5 separate regions of the Homo sapiens genome follow, and all the other regions are linked to region 3. The links are contacts of gene promoters, found by promoter capture Hi-C in blood cells and fetal thymus (Javierre and others, 2016). All regions are on one chromosome and are shown on one strand. Each heading gives the region's core, a stretch centred on a gene start or on the middle of the fragment in contact. The rest is flanking DNA. Distances are from core to core; before and after follow the strand shown.

Region 1 (4,101 bases), core at 218-2,717, 410 kb after region 3:
TTTCTAAATTAACTAAGACCTGTCTCAGATACTCAGCGTTCACAATATCATACAATTCACCCATTTGACGTGTACAATTCAGTGATTTTTAGTATATTCACAGGTGTATGCCACCATCAACAAAGTCAAATTTAGAGCATTTTTATCAGCTCACATAGAACCCCATACACTTTAGGTCTCACCCACTCCATATCCCCAGATTCCTTCCACCCCGGGCGACCACTCATCTGCTTTCTGTTTCTATGTATTTATCTATTCTGGACATTTCACAGCGATGGGATCATAGATTACGTGGTCTTTTTGTGACTGGCGTCTTGCACTTTGCTTAATGTTTTCGAGTAATTTCAGATACAATCCGTGTTCCTGCATGTATCAGTGCTTTATTCCTTTTTATGGCTGGTATAGTTCTTTATACTTTGCCATAGTTTTGAAAGAGTCACCACTTGGCAGGATAATCTAATGTGGTTATGTTGAAAGGATGTTCTTATCTGTGAGAGCTAAATAAAGTGTCAAAGGGGGATGGGAGTATGGGTGGTTGGAAAAGGCCTCAATGTGGCAGTGACTTTTGGGCAAAGATCTGAAAGAGATGTGAGTACCTGGGAGATGGTGCTCCAGGCAGATGGGATGGGAGGTCTAAAGACCCTGCGATAGATTAAGGAATGTCCCGGTAGGCAATGAATGAGGAGAAAATAGCAGGAAGTGAGGCCCGAGAGGCACTGAGCTGGGGTAGGCTATGGAGATCACTTGGGACCTTGTAGACTGTTGAAGGGAATTTAGATTTTGTTATGGGTGAAAGGGGAAGCTGGGAATGCAGAAGTACCTTGACTGACATACAAGTTCAAGGAGCTCTCTGGCCAGCGGTTGAAAATGGACCATAAGCACTAGAGGACAGAGGCAGAGAGTCCAGGTTGGGAAGAGTGGGTGTGACCATGAATTGGACTCAAGCACTGGGAGTTGCAAATAGAGTTGGGATCCATTTCAAAAATAGTTCTTGGAGGATTTGCTGATGATTGAAGTTGGGGAGTGAGGGCAGAAGAGTGAATGACCATGAGGGTCTCCCCTGGGTGGCCCATAGGATGGAGTGGCCATTGACTGAGATGGTAGAGACTTGGGAGGGGCACATATGGGGTGGTTGGGGGACAGAGCGTGATTTGGTTTTGATAATGGTTTCTCTCTCCCTTTGTTTTTTTTCATTTCAAAGGATCTAGTTCTCATTTGAGTCTTCACTAATGAGTCACTTCTCCTAGGAAGCTTTCACCAATTCTCTCCCAAACTGAGTTGGGGTCTTGCTGACTCCGACAGCACTTCATGCTTCCCTATGCCCTGGCTCACCGTGCTGTTACTACCCAGAGTGGGCAGGACTAGGACACACCAGGCTGGCTGTCTGCCCTGGCTGGCTGAGACCACCAGTGAACACTGCACCTCCCTGCTGGGAGAATAGGGGCTCACTCTTAGTGTGGTGGCAACTCTGCCTATGTGAGCTGGAGGTGCTTTCTTTTCTTACCCTGAAATTTTCGAATTCCATGTTTAGGACAAGAATGAAGCAATGAACAGTCTCCACTTGTGTTTCTGAGTCACCCGATGGCTTCCTCCCACATTTCCCCTGCCTTTTCCCTATTTTCAAGTCCCCTTTGCACAAAGGCATGTACACGTGTAGCCAGTGACATTGGGTCCTGATTACAGTGAAGCTTACAGGTCCTTGTTATTAATGAGTAAAAATAACCAGGCAATGAAAATAAGAAAGGAAGATTTATCTTTAAGAGTTAAAAAAAAAAAAAAAATCTCCTGGGAACTTCAGTGCATGACAGCCATAAATGGCTGTAAATTTTCCCAAGCACAAATCAGTATCTTAAGGTGACAAAATGCTGGCTGGAGTGACATATCATATTTGATACTGGGGTGACAGTTAAAATAGCATCCTCCATATTTGCTATTTTTCCAAGTTAGGGCTTCAAAGGGAATAGCTAGGGAGACAAGAAACATTTATCATCTATGATTTTTGCTCCCTTTCAAAGGTTAACCTTGCTATGGTGCTCAAAGAAAAAAACCTGCAAAAATATGTGTTTTAAATATGCATTTGTCGTAAAGTGCCTAAAATCCCATGTCACTCGGCCCTTTGTTTTCCATGAAAACCCTCATGCAAGATTCTGTCATTGTAGCGTGGCAGCTATGCTAAAAAAGAGATGTCACATTTTCAGTTTCATCAAGCAGGATTCTTGTTTTTGTGTGTGACCCAATTTCCGTGTTCTATAAAGCCCTTTCAGAAATCTTTTAAGATCATAATAATGCAGTCCTGGGTTTTGTTAATAGAAGTACAATATCAAGGTGCCTGTGTCTTCCCTGGAATGAACCTGGTCCTAGTGCAGTTGGAGAAGAAAGACACTGAGGAACTAGAAGGTCACACAGGGACCCTGAAGCAGGTTTGGAAGACTTTCTGTATAAAACAGAGCTGAGCACAGTGGGGCATTACAGAGAGGGCTTAAAATGGGGCCTGGGAGCTGTTTACAGACACCTAAAAGGGTTTGAGCAGGAGGAAGTATTTTTTTCTGCTCATCACATCAGAAGACAAGGTTAGGAATAGCTGGGCAAAGAACCATCAGAGGTGGGTTAGGAGTTTGGTCTGTGTCCCAGGCAGACCTATGTCCAAATCCCAACTTCACTTTTATCCACTTTGGACCTATGTTCAAATCCCAATGGTACTGTTGCATTCTTTGATTCAGTGGCTCTTGGTGGAGGATCTCTTTTGAGCCAGGCATGTTTTTAGGCATGGAAAATACAGTGGATGCAGGATGGAGAAGTTTCCTGCCCCAAGAAGCTTGCATCTTAGTGGGAATCCAAAAGCTAGATCCATATTCTGATATTTAGAAGGTCGCATAGCAACTGAAACAGAGAGGAAACTGGATGTGTGGAGCGGAAGAGACACAAGTACAGGGTGCTCAGAGGCTGCCCTGCAAGGGGCCACATTTGGGCTGAGACCTGAGTGATGGAAAAGATATGGTCACATGAACATCAAGGAGGAGGGCATCCCAGGCAGGGGCAGGGCCCCTGCAAAGATTCTATGGTGGGAACAAGCCTGGCAGTGGGTTCAAGGAACAGAAAAGAGAGCCGAGTCAATGGCAGAGGTGAAATTCCAGCTTGGCTCCATCCAATTTCAGAGCTGAAACTGTTAACCACAGAGCTAAGCTACACATACTGGAGGAAGCAGAGGGTGTGTTTGTATGCAGTGGTCAGAAATTTCATTGCTCAGGTTTTGCGGAGAAGATCAGGTTCCTGTAAACTAATAGCCTGTGACTTTAAAAATGTGCCATACCTGGGGTTCTCCTGAAAGTGCTTTCTCATATAGTTAAGAAACTTGGGTGGAGATCCCGTTGTGTTACTTCCTTTTGCTGGGTCCTTCTGGATCATGTATGATGATGATGATGACAGTGGTGACATTGATGATGACAACTGTAACCATAGTAACAGCTTCTCTGAGAACTTGTTATATACCTGGCACTCTGTGTATTATCTCCCTGAATTCCTATTTTTCTTTTCTTATTGTTCTGTTAACACTGAAGCTTAGAAAGGGTAAGTGACTTGCCCAAGGTCACACAACATCAGTATGGCTTCTGAAATCATGCTTGTCACTAGTTTTCTGAATTGCAAATCAGGAGAAAATGAGTTGGAAAGTAGAGTTTAGAAACTCACTATTCCCAAGACACTGTTGCCTGTACAATGTGTGATTAACATAATAAAAAATTCAGGACATGATTTTTGTCCTGAATAAAATATTGATCCAGCAAGGCTCTGCATGGGGATGATGGTCAGAAGCATACATGGGCATATTTTGGGGAAAGAAAGAGTAACTTCTAGGTAGGAGAATTCTTTAAAGCATTGCCTTTTCACAAAATATTTTGATCTTTAATTTTGCTGAGTACATGCCTTGGAGTGAAAAACAAAATGCTCCATTTGAAGAAATCTTTTTTTTTTTTCCCTGATCTCTAATTTTGGAGAAAGAGCTCTAACAGGCGATAGATTCTAATCTTTGTTGTGTGCTCAAACAAGTTGTGAATTAGAGAGACTTCTCCTCCTGGGAATTAGTAGCTTTCTGCTTTGTAAAAT
Region 2 (4,415 bases), core at 615-3,114, 460 kb after region 3:
CTAGGAGGCTGACCCCTGTGGACCTCATTAGCTGTCTTCCTTACTTTCAGGTGTCTAGTTGGGCTTAACCAGTGGAAACCACTGGCAGAAGAGTAGAGGATCAGAAGAGAGTGAGGTCAGAACACGTATTTACCTGGCTTGCTTCTCACCAGGTTGCCATGATCTCTGGCTCTGATCAGGCAGTCCCCTTCATACAAATGCCTTCTCTGGATTCAGGTAACAACTCCCTCAACTTGCCTTTCAGGCCTACGGTGTTACCAGCTTTCCAGTGTTTGTAGCCCAAGGGTACTGCATCATCCTATGTTGGTTTTCTTAAATCCTGACCACACCTTCGTGCCTAATCCCTTTATGCATTTTCCTCCAATAACCCAGTTTGACAGTGTCGTGCATCTTCTGCTGAGACTTTGTTAACATCCCCATTTTACAGATGAGGAAACTGAGCTTTAACACCAGCCCTATCACAAATGGGCTGTGTGATCTCCATCCTGGGTCTCAGCTCAAATACCATCTCTCTGAGAAGACTTCCCTTGTGCCTCATTAAGTAGACCCCTGCATCGGGTGTCCCCACGACCACCCACAGGTCTGTTGGTTCACCAGGAGGATTCCTAAGACTATGCATATCGTCATACTCACAGCTAGGACTAGGATGATCCAAGGCAAAATCAGCCAAAGAAAGAGATGCATGGGGCAAAGTCTGGTGGAAACCAGGCACAAGCTTCCAGGAGCTTCGCTCAGGGGAGTCACATGGGATGTGTGTCAATCCTCCAACACTGGATTGTGACAATGTGTGTGAAATGTTATCAAACCAGGAATTTGTAAGAGATTCACTGCCAGTGTTTTTAATGGGGGCTGGTTATGTAGATCTTCTCTGCCTAGCATGTACCAAAACTCCAGACCCAGAAGAACAAGCAGCTGCCTAGAATAAACCACATTGTACAAACAATCTAGGCATAATGGGCCACTCTTATCATTTAGGGAAAGTTTATATCAGTGTAGGGAACTGTTTAAGATGTAAGTTGGCAGATACCAGCTGTAGTGAGTTGAAAAATGGTGCCTTTAAAGATCTGCCCACATCGAATTCTCAGAAGCTGTGAATGTGGCCTTATTTGGACAAGGGTCTTTGCAGATGTAATTAATTAAGGATCTTGGGATGAAGACATCATCCTGGATTATCTGGGTGGGACCTAAATCCAGTGACAAGTGTCCTCATAAGAGACAAGTATCCCTTATAAGGAACAATTTGGCAGACAGAAGAGGAGAAGACAATGTGACCATGGAGGCTGAGATGGGAATGCTGCTGCCACAAGTCAAGGAATGCCTGGGGTTGCCAAAAGCTGAAAGAGGCAAGGGACAGTTTCTCCCCTAGAGCTCCCTGAGGAAGCAAAGGAAGCAAGGTCCTGCTGGATTTGGGATTTCCAGCCTCCAGAACGGTGTGGGAGTCAATTTCTGTTATTTTAAGCCACCTATTTTGTGGCAGTTTGTAATGGCAGCCCCAGAAAACCACTACACCAGCCAAGGGCCAACCTTGTAAACCTTAGATACCCTGGAGGTCTCACACAGACCTTCAAGACTGCTTTGTTAACTCTTTTTTATATCCGCCCTTTCCCTACAGTGTAATTTGCTATCAGATGATCTATTTATTTTTATAGCACTTTTCTTATCCTAATTATGTTGTTTTCTAGTTGTTCATTTAACATGTATTTATTGATCACTTTCCATGTTCTAGGCACTGTGCTGGATTTTGGGTGTAGAGTGATAAGAACAGATGGGGACTCTGCTCTTAGAGATTTTACGTTGAGAGCCTACAGTAGGAAGACAGATCATAGAGTGTGTCAGGGTGGTGGCTGAGTCAGCTGCCCACCCCTGCCTCCACATGTATTTGGATCGAATTTGGCACTTTCTGTCATTACTCAGAAGGCAGGAGTGGGGCCTGGGGAGGCCTTTGATTGTGAGGCACTTCAAGGCCACTGTTCAGAACACTTGGTTACTTCATCACAGCCCATACCAAGCATATAAAAAAGGTCTCTTTATTCTAAGAGTATCTTTGAGTGAGAAAGGAGCTTCAGATATCAGTGGGCTGAGAGGTGATGCTTCAGAGGCTCGACTCTTTCCTCTGCACTTAGAACCATGTGTAGCGGAAAAGAGCTGCATGTGCCTAATTTGCAACTTGAAACACAATTGGACTTTCTCTATGTATTTGTTTATCATATGTCTGTTAAATTATAGCTACCCAAACATGCTCTTGAGTCCCCAGTGCTGAGTAAAAACTTAGAACAGAATAGATACTCATCAAATATTGATCAAATGAGTGGATGAATGAGCCATACATTTCCTTAAACAAAACTTAACACACCGGCAGGTAGATAGTATTGACTCAATTGTCTCCCCTACCAGATCATGAACTAGTCGGGAACACGAGTCACGTCATGATGTTTTTTGTGGTCCTGGCACATTGATGGGGTCAGTCAAGGCTTGCTGAATGAATGAATGAATGAATGAATCAAAAGGAATAAATATGAGTACACGCATAGTAAACCCAGCTTCTGAAAGGTGTTTTGATGAAAAAGTAAAGCAACATTTCTCAGAGTGCTTTGGAAGTCTCTCCTAGATTTAGGCCACTTTTCCTCTGTGTTTTTGGTGTCTAGGACAATTAATTTTGTTCAGTCCATTGCACCCTGCCTTGAATTCAGATGCCTGGGTGATTTTTCTAAAACTTTGGCTGTTTATCTTGTGAGGCTGGTTCTTCCATTAATATACCCCATCTGTTCTGCTCTCCAAATAATGTCTTCGTGAGAATTCTTAAAGTTGGCCTCTAGAATCCTTAGTTTTCAGATGATTTTTCCATTTACAATAATGACCATTCTGTCTAATTTTTATTCTTAATATTTTCTGATGGACTTTCCAAATGCATCCATGCTTTTGATTTTCAAAGAGAGCAAATGGGAAATCGACTAATAAAAATCTGTAATGTAACGGTTTTAATAAGTCAATCTGTCCTTTGCTGTCATAGAACCAAGCTTCCATTTCACTGTTCAAGAACTCATCAGATGAAATGACCTCCTTGTCAAGAAAAATTACTCCATATGGTAATGTAATCACAAAGGAGAAACATTATTTCCCTATATATTATTCCCCGCAGAAATTGCAGTAAGAAAGCCATCATATTAAAAATATCTAGGATGCTGAGGTTCCTGTTTGCCAGCCTGATGGAGTTCATTTTCTTTATAGGAGAGGCAAACTCAGTTCTCATTGGCAGCATTTTATTTTAAAGGTTCATTAGGCAATTGTACATTACACTGGAACACCTGTGGAAGTGCAGATTATATCTACATGAATATAAATGCATTTGTTATGACTCACGCTATTACAGTCAATAACAGATGTCTTTTTAAGAACAGGCACTTAAAAAGAAGTGTGTATCGATGCATCCACCTATCTTCCTTAAGATGCTAGTGGCAGCACTGTGTGTTTTTTTAATTTAGAAAGTTAGTATAAGGAGAGATTAAAGCATCTCTCCTCTATTAAGCATCACCTTCCCTAAAAAGTGCAGTGCTAGTCAGAAAAATGTATATGTTTAAATAGCATCTTACTTAATGAATCCTTTTCATGAACCACATTTACTGCACAAGGAAATATTTTTCTTCATCTTAGTAGGGCCATAGAGACAATTCATCCAAGGTTGAGTTGAGCTGGGAACCCTCCTGTCTTATGAATTATTCAGCAATTTCCCTCTGTTGAATACAGGTTGGTTCCCCATTGTTGGTGAGGATCAGAGAGGAGGTAGAGAGATCCTTACCTGTGCAGGAAGAGAGCTTAGTCTACAGGGAATTCATTCTTTGTTCTTGTTTTTTCAACTGAGTTCTTTTGTTCTAGATATTATCCGTCTGATGCCACTGGTGAGGTATCACAGGTACATTGGAAAGAACATGAAACTTGAAATAAAACTCAGTTCTGTGACTTCAGTGGTTTTTCTTGTGACATAATTTAAATCCCCTATGACTCAGTTTCTCATATGTAAAATGAGGATAATTTTACTTATTGCATAGGATTGTTTTGAGCTTTCAGTGGAGTAATGTAGGACTTCTGGTTCTGCTGAAATAGCTTAGATAGACTAAGCCTTCCTTCTGTCTGAGATCAATTGTAAAATCAGATAAGATATGTCAAAGAGTGGGGGAAATAAAGCTCCCTGAAGACAAAGAGAAACCAAATGAACAAGAACTTGAGAGGCCAAATTTTGGAGAGAAGAAAATCTTATTCATGTCAACTCCACTTTTTCTTCTGGTTTCTCTTTGCAGGGTATTGCTGATTCACAGGAAGGAAAAATAGAAGTTGAGTAAAAACAGGCGGCCTGGAACTTATAACAATGTTGCTAACATGGGGAGACAGAGGTTAGAATTTGTTGATGCCTAGACAGT
Region 3 (4,558 bases), core at 666-3,165:
GCACTGGTGCTCACAGGGTCACAAGTGGGAGGCTGGAATCCACTTGGGGGAAGGACACCCACCTGCCACCTGCCTCCTCACTCTGGGTGCTCATCCCTGTGGATGCTGGGGTCCCCTCCTTCTCAGCTCCACCCGTGCTCCCTTCCTGCGGGCCTTAATGGAGCCCCTTAACTCCCTCCGCCCTGGTGTTCCCATCTGCCAAGTGAGTTTTTATGCCCACGCCGCCATTGGAAGCGTGCACCAGGAAAGCAAAGGGGGCACCAGCCCTCTACATTTTGGTTCAGCTTTTTCACATCTGGCTGAAAAGCCACAGAGAACTACAAATCATTACTGCATCATTGGCTCTTAATGGGCTGCCATTATTCCACATCAGAAATCTTCCTCACCCATATTAGACAGAAGAGCAAACTGGAGCTGAGAAGCTGAGAGGCCAGGTTAGGCTCGGGAAGCTGCTGGAGAGCCCTTGGAACTGGCTGACTCCCCGTGCACGGTACTGAGAATACGGCCGTTTCCCATAGAGTAGGCTGCATTCCGCTTACCAGGGACGCATAAGTAATCCACACCCGCCAGTCCTAGGACCCAAAGCCCAGGGAGATGATCCTGGGCATCCCGAGAAGGGGAAGGTCCCTAACTTGGTAAAGTGAGTTACTGGAGAAACAGGGGAAGAAGTACAGCCTCAGGGTTCAGAAACTCCAAAGAATTCCAGATGCGTCCCTCTCCACCCACTTCCCCAGCAGAGACCCAGGAAAAGTTCAGGATCCCCCAAGCCTCCTCTTCCAAACTCAACCCACGGCTCCTCCCACCCAGACTGGGGTCTGGGGTGGCCTCTCCCTGCCCCCCTCCCTCCCTCCCCCAGCCTAGCCGGCTCGGCTCACCTTTGGGCAGTTTGGATGCGTTCTCCTGGATCCAGGAGAAGAGGTGGGCGAAGTCACAGTCGCACAGCCAGGGGTTCCCGTCCAGACGCAGGGAGCGCAGCGCGGGCAGCGCGGCCAGGGCGGCCACGCTGAGGCTGCGCAGGTTGTTGTCGTTGAGCTCCAGCACCTGCAGCGACTCCAGGGTCTCGAAGGCGTCCTCGTGCACGCCCACCAGGTTGTTGTTAGCCAGGCTAAGCTTCACCAGCCTCCCGGCCGAGCGGAAGGCGCCGGCGCCCAGCTGGGTCAAGTTGTTGTAGCTGAGGTCGAGGAACACGAGCTTGGCCGAGCCGCTGAACGTGCCCTCCTCCAGCGAGCGCAGCGAGTTGTTCCTGAAGTCCAGGTAGACCAGGTCGCCGTAGAAGATGAAGAAGTCCTCGGGGATCCGCTGGATGCGGTTGCCGGCCACCAGCAGCTTGCGCACGTCCAGGGGGAAAGGGTCTGGCACGCTGGGCAGCCCGCGGTCGCGGCAGTCCACGGTGTGCGGGTCGGTGCAGGCGCAGCCCGCGGGGCACGCGTGCCCGGGCGCGAGCAGCAGCAGAAGGCTGCAGAGCCCGAGCGCCGCGGCGGCGCAGGCTGGGGCTCGGGGGCGCATGGCCGGGGGGCCCGCGCCGGCCGCGGCGAGAAGGAAGCGGCTCTCGGAGCGAGCCCTGGCGCGGGACGGCGCGGTGAGGCACTGGCTGCCGGGCGCGGGGAGCCAGAGGGCGGCCCGGGCGGGGAGGGCGTGCGCCCGGGCGTGCGGGGGCGATGGAGCGCGGCGCGGACGGACTGGGGAGCCGGGACAGCAGGGATGGAGAGGGGAGGGGCGGGGAGGGAGGGGCGAGGGACTCACCAAAGGGTTTACCCGGACAGGAAATTAACCCGCTAGAAAAATCTCTTGGGAGAGGCGGGAGCGGCAGGGGTGGCCGAGTGGCCGTCGCCAAAACGCGGCCCCACCCTGGCAGCTGATTTCCGAGATCTGGCAGTAAGACGCCGCGCGCACCGGGCGGGCTGCACTCGACGTCTAAGTTCAGCTACCAAGCCCAGGAGCGGTTTCCCTAAGGCGTGTCCCGGGCGTGCGCCCTGCCCCCTCGCGCCCGCCTGGTGCCAAAGCACGCTCCCTGCACGCCACCCTATGTCGCCAAAGGGAGTGGGACCTGGGTCACTCTGACTCTGCTCCGGGGGCAATCCCTGCAGGTTCTCGGGTGCCGCGCCAGGGTCTGCTGGTCTGAATTTGGGCGGGGTTCCAAGGGGAGAGAGTGAGTGACTGGTCTTCCCTCTTCCCTCCCCCACCTGCACTTGAACCATCTTAGGCTGGAGGGTGAGCGAGGCAAGTGGCTGCCAGGGCCCCCGCTGTGGCCTGCAGGGCCAGTCAGCACTTTCCATGCCGGCCCCGAACTTCTGGATGGAACTGGCATCCATGCAAGGATCAGCTGCTGGTCTGAGAGGTCCAGCTGCTGAGGCTCTGAGGCCTGGAGTCACCAGGCCTGGCTTCCAAGCTGTGTGGCCTCAGACCAGTACCTCTGCCTCTGTGGACCTGGTAGCTCCATTTGTGAAATGGAAAAAGGTAATATATATCTCATCAGCTTTGGGGGAGGACCAAGAAGTCAAGAACAAAGTTCAAAAATTATCTTTTCCTCTCTCCCCCTCAAAACCCCACCTTGGATAGCCTAGGGAGGCAGTCAGGAACGTGCCAAGGCTGAGATGAAAGGACAGTGAGGAAATGCTGATGTCAGCCTCTGACACTGGCAGGAAAATTCCCTCTTCACCACCCCGATGCCAAACTCCTTTCTTTCTGTCCCACCTCATTCTAGAAACTTCTATATGGGGAGGGGTCCCCACAGAGCTACCAAGAGATTGTCCCGCTGTTGGCTATTTTGGTCCAAATGCCCTAGAATTGACAGACTCCCACTAGACCAAAATAACCCAGGGAACAGCTGTTGGGCAGCAGGCTCCCAGAGACCCTTCCCTGGCCCCTGGCCATGCTGGGGATTGGTGGAGCCTCGGATTCTGAAGCCATAAAGCTAAGCCCTCGGCCTTCTTCCAAAGGTACAGGCCGACTTGATGCCTCTGAGCCATGGGATGAAAAAACTGATCCCCTGGGATGGAGCCAAGGGCTCAACAGATGAGCATATTTGCAGGAGCCCTGGGGAAGAGGCGGGGGAGACCCAGGGGGAAGCTTTGAGGCACCTGGAGTCCTGCAGCTTTTCCCCTACTTACATTCCAGGCCACTAAGCCAGACCTCCCTCAGTTCTCCGTCTCTGTCTCCACTCTCCCAGGGTGCCCAATTTGCCATTGCCATCCCCAACTTCAAGGGCTCAGCTTCCCCACCCCAGTCTCATGCTCTTGAAGAGGCAGGTGTCGGGAGGAGTGGTCTGAATGCTCCCAGAGTGGATGAAAATGCTTCTGCCTACATAAATGATGTATAAATTATTGAAGAGTCACACAAAGTGCAGGCAGGTGGCAGAATAAACACATCTCCCACCCTTGCAACTCTGCAAAAGCAGCCTGAACCGAACTGTTGCACTCTGCCAATCTCAGGCTTGGTTCTGCCTGCTCCCTCCTGTACTGAGGGGAACCTATTACTGGTTTGAGCCCTTAGCATCATGGTTTCATGACACCCGCATTTGGTTGGGCTGCCATCTTGCACGTGCATGCCCGCGTGTCTGTATGTCTGGGTGTGTACACAAGCCCTCCCTGCCAAGTGGTCTGGTTGGCTGGAGCACTGACCTATATGAATCAAGACCCTGGGTCTGGTCCTGGCCCCACCACTAGCCACAGAATCTTTCACAAGCCACTTGATCTCTCTGGGGACTTCTTAGCCTGGGTCCCCAGATACTATGAAGAGGAGGTCTTTTCAAAATTTAAAAAAGTCTGGTGAAAATTAGGCCTTTATCTTTGAGGAGGTCTCCCGGATTAAATACTGCAATTCTTGCCAGTGAACTTAATGGTAGCACTAGTCCTTTTGTGCAGAACCGGCATTCATAGGTGACTTTAAGAAAAACAGAGATGAATTTCTACTGAATAAATGCAAGTATTTAGTTGACAAGGACTTGCAAAACAGGGGAATGCATGGTACTAAAATATTAAGAGGGGCTCTTGGTAACAAACCTATTGAGAAATACCACTCCTAGCCTTGATTTCCTCATCCTGAAACTAATGAAAAAATACCTTTCTTCTTCCTTTCCACAGACAACGTGAGGGCCGCATGGGGAAGTATTTGTATGGGAACATGATTTGAAAGGTCTTTGGAGAAATATTGCCAATAAAAGTGGCCACAAATCTTGCGATGGCAGGAACAATTTGTTTCCTCGAGTGTCCCCCAAAGTTCCTTGGATCCAAATGTAAGCATTCTTTTCATTAATATCAGCAGAACTAGACATGGTTGGGCTTTGTAGGGAGCAGGGAGGTATCTCAGATTCCAGAGCTCCCATCCCTTGGGGGAAATACAAGCTTTGCCACCTCTAAATTTTTCCCCCAACAAATAAAACAGAGCCATGACCTCAGCAAGGTCACAATATGAGTCAGTGATAGGCGCTAGAAATAGAACACAGGCATTCTGAGTCCCCACCTGCACCATTCACCAATTCACCCACTCACCCCCTCTCCAGGAAGGGAATCTCTTACCCTTGAGGGCAAACATTGCAGGTAACAAACATTGCAGGTAA
Region 4 (4,467 bases), core at 1,411-3,910, 440 kb after region 3:
TCATAGCAGTGTGAGAACGGACTCATACACATCTGGTGTGGGGAAAGGGGGCAGTGGAGAGGCTTCTGCAGGATGGAACCTTCCTGTTTTGAGATCCAGTGTTGGCTTCTTGAGCCTTACCCCCAAGACCTCTTTGTGGCCATGAACCGTTCTTTTTTTTCTGCAAACAATCTTTTTCCTGTTGCAATGATGCTCAGTCCACCATCTCCTGGTTTTCATTCTGTATCTCTGGAAGCTTCTCCTCAGAAGTATTGCTGGCTCCTGTTTTGCTGTTATTTTCAGGAATGAAAATATGGCTCAAGGTTCTGCCCTAGGCCCCTTCCCATGTTACAGACATGAAAATGGAGGCTTAGAGAGCTAAGTAACTTGGCTAAGGTCACTCGGGTAGCAAGAGGCAAAATCGTGACTGGACTCAAGATGCATGACTCAGATGTCCCAGCATCGCCTCTCTGACGTACCCAGCATCCAGCATGTACTCTGTGTTCAATAAATACGCTGATAAATGCTGAGTAAAACAGAACTCAAACCCAGGTTTTCTGGATCTAATCTATTATTCTTTCCAGCCAGCATTCTGGTAAGAACATCATTTCCCCTCTCCTCTGTACCCAGAGGGAGCAGCTGTCCCAGAAATTGCAGTTACTCTCAAGATTTTTATTTTCAGCAGCTCTGATTTTTATGTTCAGGGACCACACTTAATTATTGCAAAACATCTGCTGGCACAAAGTGGCGTTTTGTTACTGAATCATTCCCAAGAACATCCCATGAGCTCTTGTACTTGGAGACAATTTCTGCAGGGGCCTGGGCCAGCAGAAATACCTCCTGTTTAAGAGGCAGCAGGGGAGACTTAGGGTTGACTGGCTTTGAAAGCAACCACTAATTAGATTGTTCAGGGCTTAAAAAATGATAAGGCTTCTCAATATCAGACAGCGGTCCTTATCAGATATTTAATAACCTCTGCATGACTTTCCGTGAGCATCTCTGTGTGACGAGGTGTTTTTAGGGTGAGATTTTTTTCCATGTCTATGGGGTTCCATAATGGCGATCATAACAGCTCACACTTTACTGAGCCCTTTTTCTGTGCCAAGCAGCGTCCTTAGCACTCCTTGAACTTCATCACATTCAAAAAGGTCTCCTATTATCCATATGAATATACCTTATGATGGAGAAGTAATCTGGGTCAGCTAGAAGTTGTCTTTCCCAAGGCTGAGCCAGCTGGCAAATGTGTGACAGAATCTAAACCCAGACAGGCAGACCCCAAAGCCCCATTCTCAACATCCATCCTCTAAGGTCAAAGGTAACGGGGAAGCTGCTGCTCAAAACACAGCCGAGACACCATCCAGTTTGGACCTGGGAGGATTCCCACTGCAACTGTTGACTATAAGACTGAGTTTGATGTGAGGAGGAACTTCATGGCTAAGATTTGGAGACACTGGGTCCGAGTAAGATTGAAAGGCCTTGGAATGGTGGGTAGGGGCCTTCCAGATCCCGCCCCTGCCTTGCTCTGCAGCCCCCTCTTCCAACACATCCCCACACCCCAGGGCTGAGCCTGCTCCCTGAGCCTTGCTCCCTCCCAGGCCTCTTCCTTTGCTTCATGCACCTGCTGCTTTGTTTGGGCTGCACTTCCTCCCTCTTGGCCTTTGTCATTGGGTGCCCAGGTTTTTCTCTGTCCCCGCCTCCTCCGATGGTCCTGCACAATGCTTCCTTGGTGTCCCTTATGCCTTCCAGACCTCCCTGGCCAGGCCAGTGCCCTTCCAGGTCACCTCTTCTGGCATCCCACATTGCCCCCACAGAGCACTTCCAGCTGTCCTTTTGTACCCATTTCTGGGATTTGATGGTCTCTCCTATCAGACTGTCAGCTCCATGAGGACAAGGACTGTGTCTGTTTCTCCTTATTGTATATCCCCAGCGTTCAGTGTACTGCCTGGCAAATAGTTCATGTTCAAAATATTTTTTGAATGAGTTGTCTGAGTTATCTACTTGCTTGTGGGCTTCCTTACTAGACTATCAGGAAACAGCATCTGGCAGGTAGTAGTTGATGTGTTCAAATTGGGATTTTTAGTAAAGATACAGCTTACAAAGGCAGCGTCGGACTGCAGGAGTTATTATAACCCTCAGGCCTGAGCAGACCAGGAGAGGGAAGGGCTGCCTAGAAGGAGCTGCGGCCTGGAGAGAGCAGAGGAACGAATACCCCAACCTCATCAGCCACTCATTCTTTGACTTCTCTATGTGCCTCCCATTGACTGAGCCCACAGGGCAGCTAGAGGTCAAGGGGGTTCAAGGATGCAGTTCCCACTGGCTGCCTCTTGGGGCGTTTCAGGGGCAAGGTCGTCTATCCAGTACTGTGTGTTAAATAGGTATACAAAGGAAGGAATCGCCTTCCCAAAAGATGTGATAGTGTTGCAGTTCTCGGGAAACTGTCAAAGGAGAAGATAGAACGGGATGTTTCTGGTCTTGTTGGGAAATGACCCTGCCTGGAGTCCATGGGATTCCTCTTCCTTTCAGCCTTTTTTCTTTGGCTAATACCCAGCCCTGTATTAAGGATTTGGAATTTGCAGGCGATACCATTGCATTGTCAGGTAGAGATTCTTTGAGCAAAGACTTTAGAGAGGAGACACTGTGGGTGTGCCCAGTGCACAGTGTTGGGGGTCAGCATGTTTGAGTGAACATCCTGGCTCCCGGAGAGGCAGCAAGGCATAGTGTGGTAAGGGACATGGGACCTGGAGTTAGCCTATCCAAGTTCAAATCCTGGATCTGGATCTACCACTTCACAGCTGTGTGGCTTGACTTTCCCATCTGTGAAATGGGGATAAGGGTAGATGAGGATAAGATGAGCTAGTCCACGCAAAGCACTTAGACCCATGCCTGGCTCATGGTTCGGGGACCACACTTCCTGGTGAGCTCAGGATGGCCCCAAAGTATGCCTGTCATCCCAGAAGAATTATTACTAATGTCCCCTTTATTCTCAAAAGGGTTCTGGTTTGGAGATGACTCACGTGGTCTTACACACTGTAGGGTGTTGTTATGTCTTGCTGAATATTTGGACAAGCCACTTCACTGCTTAGAATCTTAGCTCTAAAATGGAGATAATAATAATAATAATAATAATAATAATAATAATAATAATAATAATATCTGCTCTTCTGGGTTGATTTGGGATGATAGGATGAAACAGAATGGCCAGCACAGGGTTGCTGTCCATGATGATCATGCTCTTTGTGTTTCTCTAAGTCCAGGCAAGCCATACAGACATAGATGGATTCCCACCCCCTTACCACCCACTTTCTGCTTTTATAAAAATCTCTCAAGTAAAAGTGCCTTAAGACACATGATGCCAAGGTATGACCCACAGTGCTGTTGCCTTGGTGGTTATCTGGCCTGCCCTAGCTGTGCTATTTATTATCAGTTGGGTAGTTTTAGTAACAGTTTCCCAGGGAAATCTTGAACCAGGTCAGGCCTGTTTGCAGTAAAGAAAGGGTGGTGTCTTAACCCAGATCCCTGCAGGCCTATGGGAGCTGTTGATTGTTTGAGGACTATTTGTTGCATAATCTCCTTTCTTTTAGCAGCTTCTTATTTGAGCAGGAAAAGGGGTTTCAGGACTCCCTAGAGCTTCTACTTTATTTGTTATTAATATTATTTACTGGGCTGCCTTTTTGTCTTCTAAATTGAATTACTCTCAAAAGGGTTCTGGTTTGGAGATGACTCATGTGGTCTTACACACTGTAGGATGTTGTCATGTCATGCTGAATATTTGGACAAGCCACTTCACTGCTTGGAGTCTTAGGTATAAAATGGAGATAATAATAATAATAATAATAATAATAATAATAATAATAATAATATCAATATCTGCTCTTTTGGATTGATTTGGGATGATAGGATGAAACAGAATGGCCAGCACAGGGCTGGACAATTGGCCTGGGAGGCTCAGAGCTTCGCAATTCTTCTAGGCACTATCTTATCTCTCCTCTCACCCCTTACATGGAGGTGAATTTTGGCTTTATTGACTCAGGGAGGAGTTGTGGTTACTTCTTGGGCCCTGTGCTGGTTCCTTTTAAAGAGGAGAGAGAACAAACAGCAGCAAGCTGGGGCAGGGTCTTCTGGGAACTGTTATAAACCCCCGATCGCTTTCAGAACACCTTATAAAGTCAACCTGTGTGCACACAGACGCATGACATTGAAAGGTCCCCCTGGCCAGATCACCAGGAAAGCTCCTCATGTTGCAAGGCCACTGGCCAGCCGGAGCTCAAATACCAGTAGTATCAGCTGGACCACAATTGTGCTGTGTGACCTTGGGATGTCCCTATCCCTCTCTGGATCTCCACTTAGTCGCCTTTAAAATGAGGAAACTGAACCAGAGTTCTCTATGATTTTCCTCCTAGTTATATGATTCTTTATTTCCTAAGATATAGGGAGATACATTTTTAGCTCATCATAAAAGATATTCGAACAGCCAAAGCTGCCTGATGA
Region 5 (4,084 bases), core at 669-3,168, 390 kb after region 3:
GGCAATTCATTTTTCATTGAATGTCTTTTTTTAACCTCTAGAAGTTCTCATTGAATAGTTTTCAAATCTCCCAGGTATTATTTTTTAAGATAATCTTTGTCTCTCTTGCTCTTGATCATATGTTTTATTTATTTAATCATTTAAAATTAATACTTATCTGATAAAGGAATTTTATAATCCAATTCTGGCACTCCTGAGTACATTTCTTCTGCTTTTCTGTTGACTCATGTCTAAGATAGCTTATTACCTCATGCACTTTGCAAGATTGGATTTTGAGCTTATTCTAGGAATTTTATCTGTGAGATGTTATTACCGTAGGTAATGTTAATTTCCAGGCTGGATATTTCCATACATTCCCTGGTAGTATAAATTTGAACCCCAACTCATATGAGGGTAAGCTTGAAGTAATGAGGTATTAAGGGAGATCACTCTCAACCCCTCTCAATCCAGGACTCAGACTGAGGCAGACAAGCTTTCTTACCTCCCCGTGCCTGTGTTCAGGACCCACATCCAAGTCTCATCTTCCCTGATGTCGAGCCCTCTAAGATAGCTGGTGTGTGAATATGTGTGTGGAAAGTATTGTAGTTCTAATTCCTCTATCCCAGCATAACCTAAAACCTTGCCATCTATCCCATGTGGCTAATAAAACTCTAGCATTCATTTTACAAGATAAGCAATTGCCTCCGAACAGCCAAAATCTTAGTGTGTGCTATCACTCTGGTTTTCAGTTTTGTAATTTTTTTTTGTTAGTTTGTTTTGTGGATGTATTAATTTCCTATAGCCATTATAACAAATTACCACAACCTCGGTGACTTAAAACGACAGAAACATATTATCTCATTGTTCCGCAGGCCAGAAATCCAAAATCAGTATCTCTGGACTGAAATCAAGGTCTCAAAAGACCTGAGTTCCTTCTGGGAGCGCCAATCTCTCTCCATGGTTACCCAGCTCCTCCTTCTCATCTGTGTATGTGATCTCCCTCTGACTCTCTCTTCTAAGGACGCTTGTGATGGCAATTAGAGCCCACTCGGATAATCCAGGATAATCTCCCCATTACTAGATTCTTAGCTTCAATCACATCATTTGAAAAAAGAGACCCTTGTCCCAAATAACATAACATTTACAAGTTCCAGGGATTAGGATGTAAATGTCTTTTGCAGGGGGCATTTTCAGCCCACTACAGTACATTTCTGTTACTTTAAGAGTTCAGTTTTGTATTTCTAAGGATGCCTATTGTATTTTCAAATGTTTTATAGACTTTCCCCTGAGTCTACCATACTAACTCCCTGAAAAAGAAATAGAGCAAACAACCTCCAGGCTGGAGAGAGAAATACAGAGCCTCCTGGGGGCGGGCTTCGTTTTCGGAGAGGCAGGAGTTGGAGATGTTGAGGCGTAGGTGCTTATAGGTGTGAGGAAATGATGCTTCTAAAACCCTGTGGGGCAGAAAGGCTGTACTACTGCTGAGAAGATGCTGCTGCCTGGGCTGGACCGGCCCAGGTTTCCAGTCTGCCTCTTCCCGTTCTTCTGGCCTAACTTTGTCTCTTGGCTTCCATATATGTGTGATCGACCTTGGTTTACTGCTCTCCTTTGACCTTTAATGTCTTCCATTCTGACAGCCAGAACTGACCTTAAGTCTGTTTCTTATTATCCCCTTTGCCTCAGACACTGGACAAGACATTCACCTGGGACTGTCTCAGGGACTCACTCTGTGCCAACTGGGTGTGGCCAAAACCAGAGCAGGGCCAGGACCAGAAATGACCATTATTACACAGCATGCTATGCTGCAGATGCCACCATGGGAGAGAGACGAATGCATTCCTGAAAATTCCATTCTGGGGCACATCTTCATTCCTAGCGACAGTCAGGCAAACAGACCAAGAGACTGTGTCATGCTTGTTGGGATTCTTCGGGAAGTAAGGCTTCCCGCCTGTGCAAAGGCCATTGCAAAGTGAAATACCCAGTGTCTCCAGGTAATGCGTGGAGTGGTTATGGTGGGCTTCTTGTTCTATTAGCTCAGAGAAAAGAAATATCTATGTGGGTGATTTTTGTTCCTGCCTCTTTTGATGTGGTGTCTCTGTCTTCAGTTAATGTGAATGGCTAAAACCTTGATGAAAAGTGTTTTTGCAGCTGGATTTCCCCTGAGAAGGTATCTCCACCATGCAATAGAATCTTCCAGCACCACAGGGCACCCCCTCCAGGACTAGAGTCCCACTGAAGGCTGGAAACACATTTTGTGCCTCTCAAGCCAGTATTAGGGATCAGTTGGCGAATGTCTCCCTATAGTGAGGTGGAGTGGCCCCTGGGGACTGTGCCAGGATGCTTGGCAGGGTGGGAGCTAGGACCTAAATTCAGTTTAATAGCAGGAAGTGGTAGAGAAGACCCCAGCCCCGGGGTATGGGCCCAGGCCTGGCAGAATGAGTGACAGGATTTAAGGCAAGGCCTTTGAGGGGTGTGTATGAGGCTGTGTGTGTGTGTGTTGGGTGGGTGGGAATGGGGGGTCTTGGAATGAACTAGGCTGGCATTATCTGGTCTCTGTTACTCTCAGGTCCAAGCTCTCTTATCCAGGAGGAAATTCTAAAGGTAACCCAGTCCCTGGAGCCACTGATGTTATCTCCTGGTCCAATAGCCCTTCCACAAACAACCCAAATGTATGCTATGTGTACCCAGTTTCAAAATATTTTCTGGGAAACATAAGGCTGAATTAGTCTGGCAACCTTCAGACTGGCTTCTCATGAAAGCTCAGTCTCCCCATGAGACATTTTTGGATGGGTTTGGGAGTAACTTCTCCCACCGCAACATTTTTTTTGGCTTGGATGATACTTCTTGTGCCCCTGTTGGGTGAGGTTATAAGACTGTGTAGTTCGTAGAGAAAAAGAGAATGTGCTTGTCCTAAACAAGAGCTGATTCTCTGAGAATTATTGGGGTCTGAAGACAGCAATACTGGTGCACAAATTTATAATATGATTAGCAGTGGTAGCAGGAGATGGAATAGATGACAAGGCAAAGAGAACATTTGCTGTCAGCTGGCCTGCAGGAACTTAATAATTTAAAGAAAGTGCCAGCCACATTGTGGCAGTCCATTTTTCTACTTGAAACAGAATTCCTGGACTTTGTTTCATACTGAAGACGTGGTTTATTTTTAGTTACATCAGAAAGCCTGTAGCTGGGGTTATTCAGAAAGCTGGACTGCCCATGAGAAACAGGCAGCATCAACACATTGTCTTGTGGTTTAGAAAGACTCTCTTGCCTGCTCTAGCATGAAGGACCAGCCACTTGCCTTTGAGGGTAATGAGAGAGGTCATGAGAAAGCTAGGGGGTTTCAAAGCAGTCCACGCCTTCTTGCACAAAGCTATTGCTATAGGCTGAAGCTTGGCTCTTTGGCCTTGACGGCTCTTTGGTCAAGAAAGCTCCAGCCTAAATAGCTAATTCCCCTGGGTCCTAAGTGTTCATTAAAAATCCAGTTTGTCAGGTGGTACCACCCTGGTTGTCCCCAGTTTAAACAAAAGTTCCTTTGTGGACACTGGCAGTTGGAAACGGAAACTTGGAGCCGTGTCGAAGCCAGATGGCAGCCAGCAGAGACTTTATAGCTTTTCTTGGGAAGGCATTGATCACTGATAAACGAACTGGGCATTGCAGAAGAACCCTTTGCCATTATCTTGTCCCTTGGTAAACTAAAGCATGGTGGGGCCTGTACTTCCCTTTCAAGGGTCATAAACTTCTCAAGTGGTGGAACAGGCCCGAGCTAGGATGCTGAGCTGCAAAAATTGTTGTGTGTGCAGAAATCCACGGTGACAAGACCTGTGTTCACCCCAAGTAGCATCATGGCAGAGCTGTTAAGGACTTTCGTGAGCTGGAGAACATAAAATAAACACATGTTTTATGAGACCAAAGAGAGTAAGTACGAGGCTACTCCTTGGGCTGCCTTTTGTTTTCGCAAAGCAGCAGAGCTCGCAGGTTTGCCTCTTCTCCTCGCTTCTTGGTACACGCAGGTGGGTGAAGTCCACCAAGTCAGGGAAAGTCGGTAGGTGCTTTCTTATCCCTACAAGAGGAGAAGATGGGCATTGGCAGGGGGCATTTAGGTATA

The links. Contacts are between HindIII fragments. The CHiCAGO score rates a contact against its expected background, and 5 or more counts as called.
Region 1: a contact is called between a fragment that was not itself captured here and the fragment with the promoter of LRRC38 in region 3, in 1 of 17 cell types (naive B cells). The highest score is 5.2, in naive B cells.
Region 2: a fragment that was not itself captured here is called in contact with the fragment with the promoter of LRRC38 in region 3 in 4 of 17 cell types (total B cells, naive B cells, M2 macrophages and 1 more); the score reaches 7.6 in total B cells.
Region 4: a fragment that was not itself captured here is called in contact with the fragment with the promoter of LRRC38 in region 3 in 3 of 17 cell types (naive B cells, M0 macrophages and M1 macrophages); the score reaches 6.1 in naive B cells.
Region 5: a fragment that was not itself captured here is called in contact with the fragment with the promoter of LRRC38 in region 3 in 1 of 17 cell types (total B cells); the score reaches 5.2 in total B cells.

What each region holds. Positions count from the first base shown.
Region 1 is chr1:13,924,888-13,928,988 of GRCh38, forward strand. It overlaps a transcript of KAZN not described here. Among named protein-coding and RNA genes, the nearest start is that of PRDM2, 230 kb to the left of the region's middle. The HindIII fragment of the contact is 437 bases long and covers 1,250-1,686 here.
Region 2 is chr1:13,973,329-13,977,743 of GRCh38, forward strand. It overlaps a transcript of KAZN not described here. Among named protein-coding and RNA genes, the nearest start is that of PRDM2, 280 kb to the left of the region's middle. The HindIII fragment of the contact is 2,302 bases long and covers 714-3,015 here.
Region 3 is chr1:13,512,088-13,516,645 of GRCh38, forward strand. It overlaps LRRC38 (leucine rich repeat containing 38), which reads right to left and starts at 1,916. Exons shown (of 2, transcript NM_001010847.2): 1 at 876-1,916. The coding sequence starts at 1,506. It overlaps LOC107984918 (a long non-coding RNA gene), which reads left to right and starts at 1,133. Exons shown (of 3, transcript XR_001737896.2): 1 at 1,133-1,254; 2 at 2,204-2,457; 3 at 4,083-4,177. The HindIII fragment of the contact is 1,959 bases long and covers 1,109-3,067 here.
Region 4 is chr1:13,948,541-13,953,007 of GRCh38, forward strand. It overlaps a transcript of KAZN not described here. Among named protein-coding and RNA genes, the nearest start is that of PRDM2, 250 kb to the left of the region's middle. The HindIII fragment of the contact is 4,854 bases long and covers 234-4,467 here.
Region 5 is chr1:13,905,034-13,909,117 of GRCh38, forward strand. It overlaps a transcript of KAZN not described here. Among named protein-coding and RNA genes, the nearest start is that of PRDM2, 210 kb to the left of the region's middle. The HindIII fragment of the contact is 2,896 bases long and covers 471-3,366 here.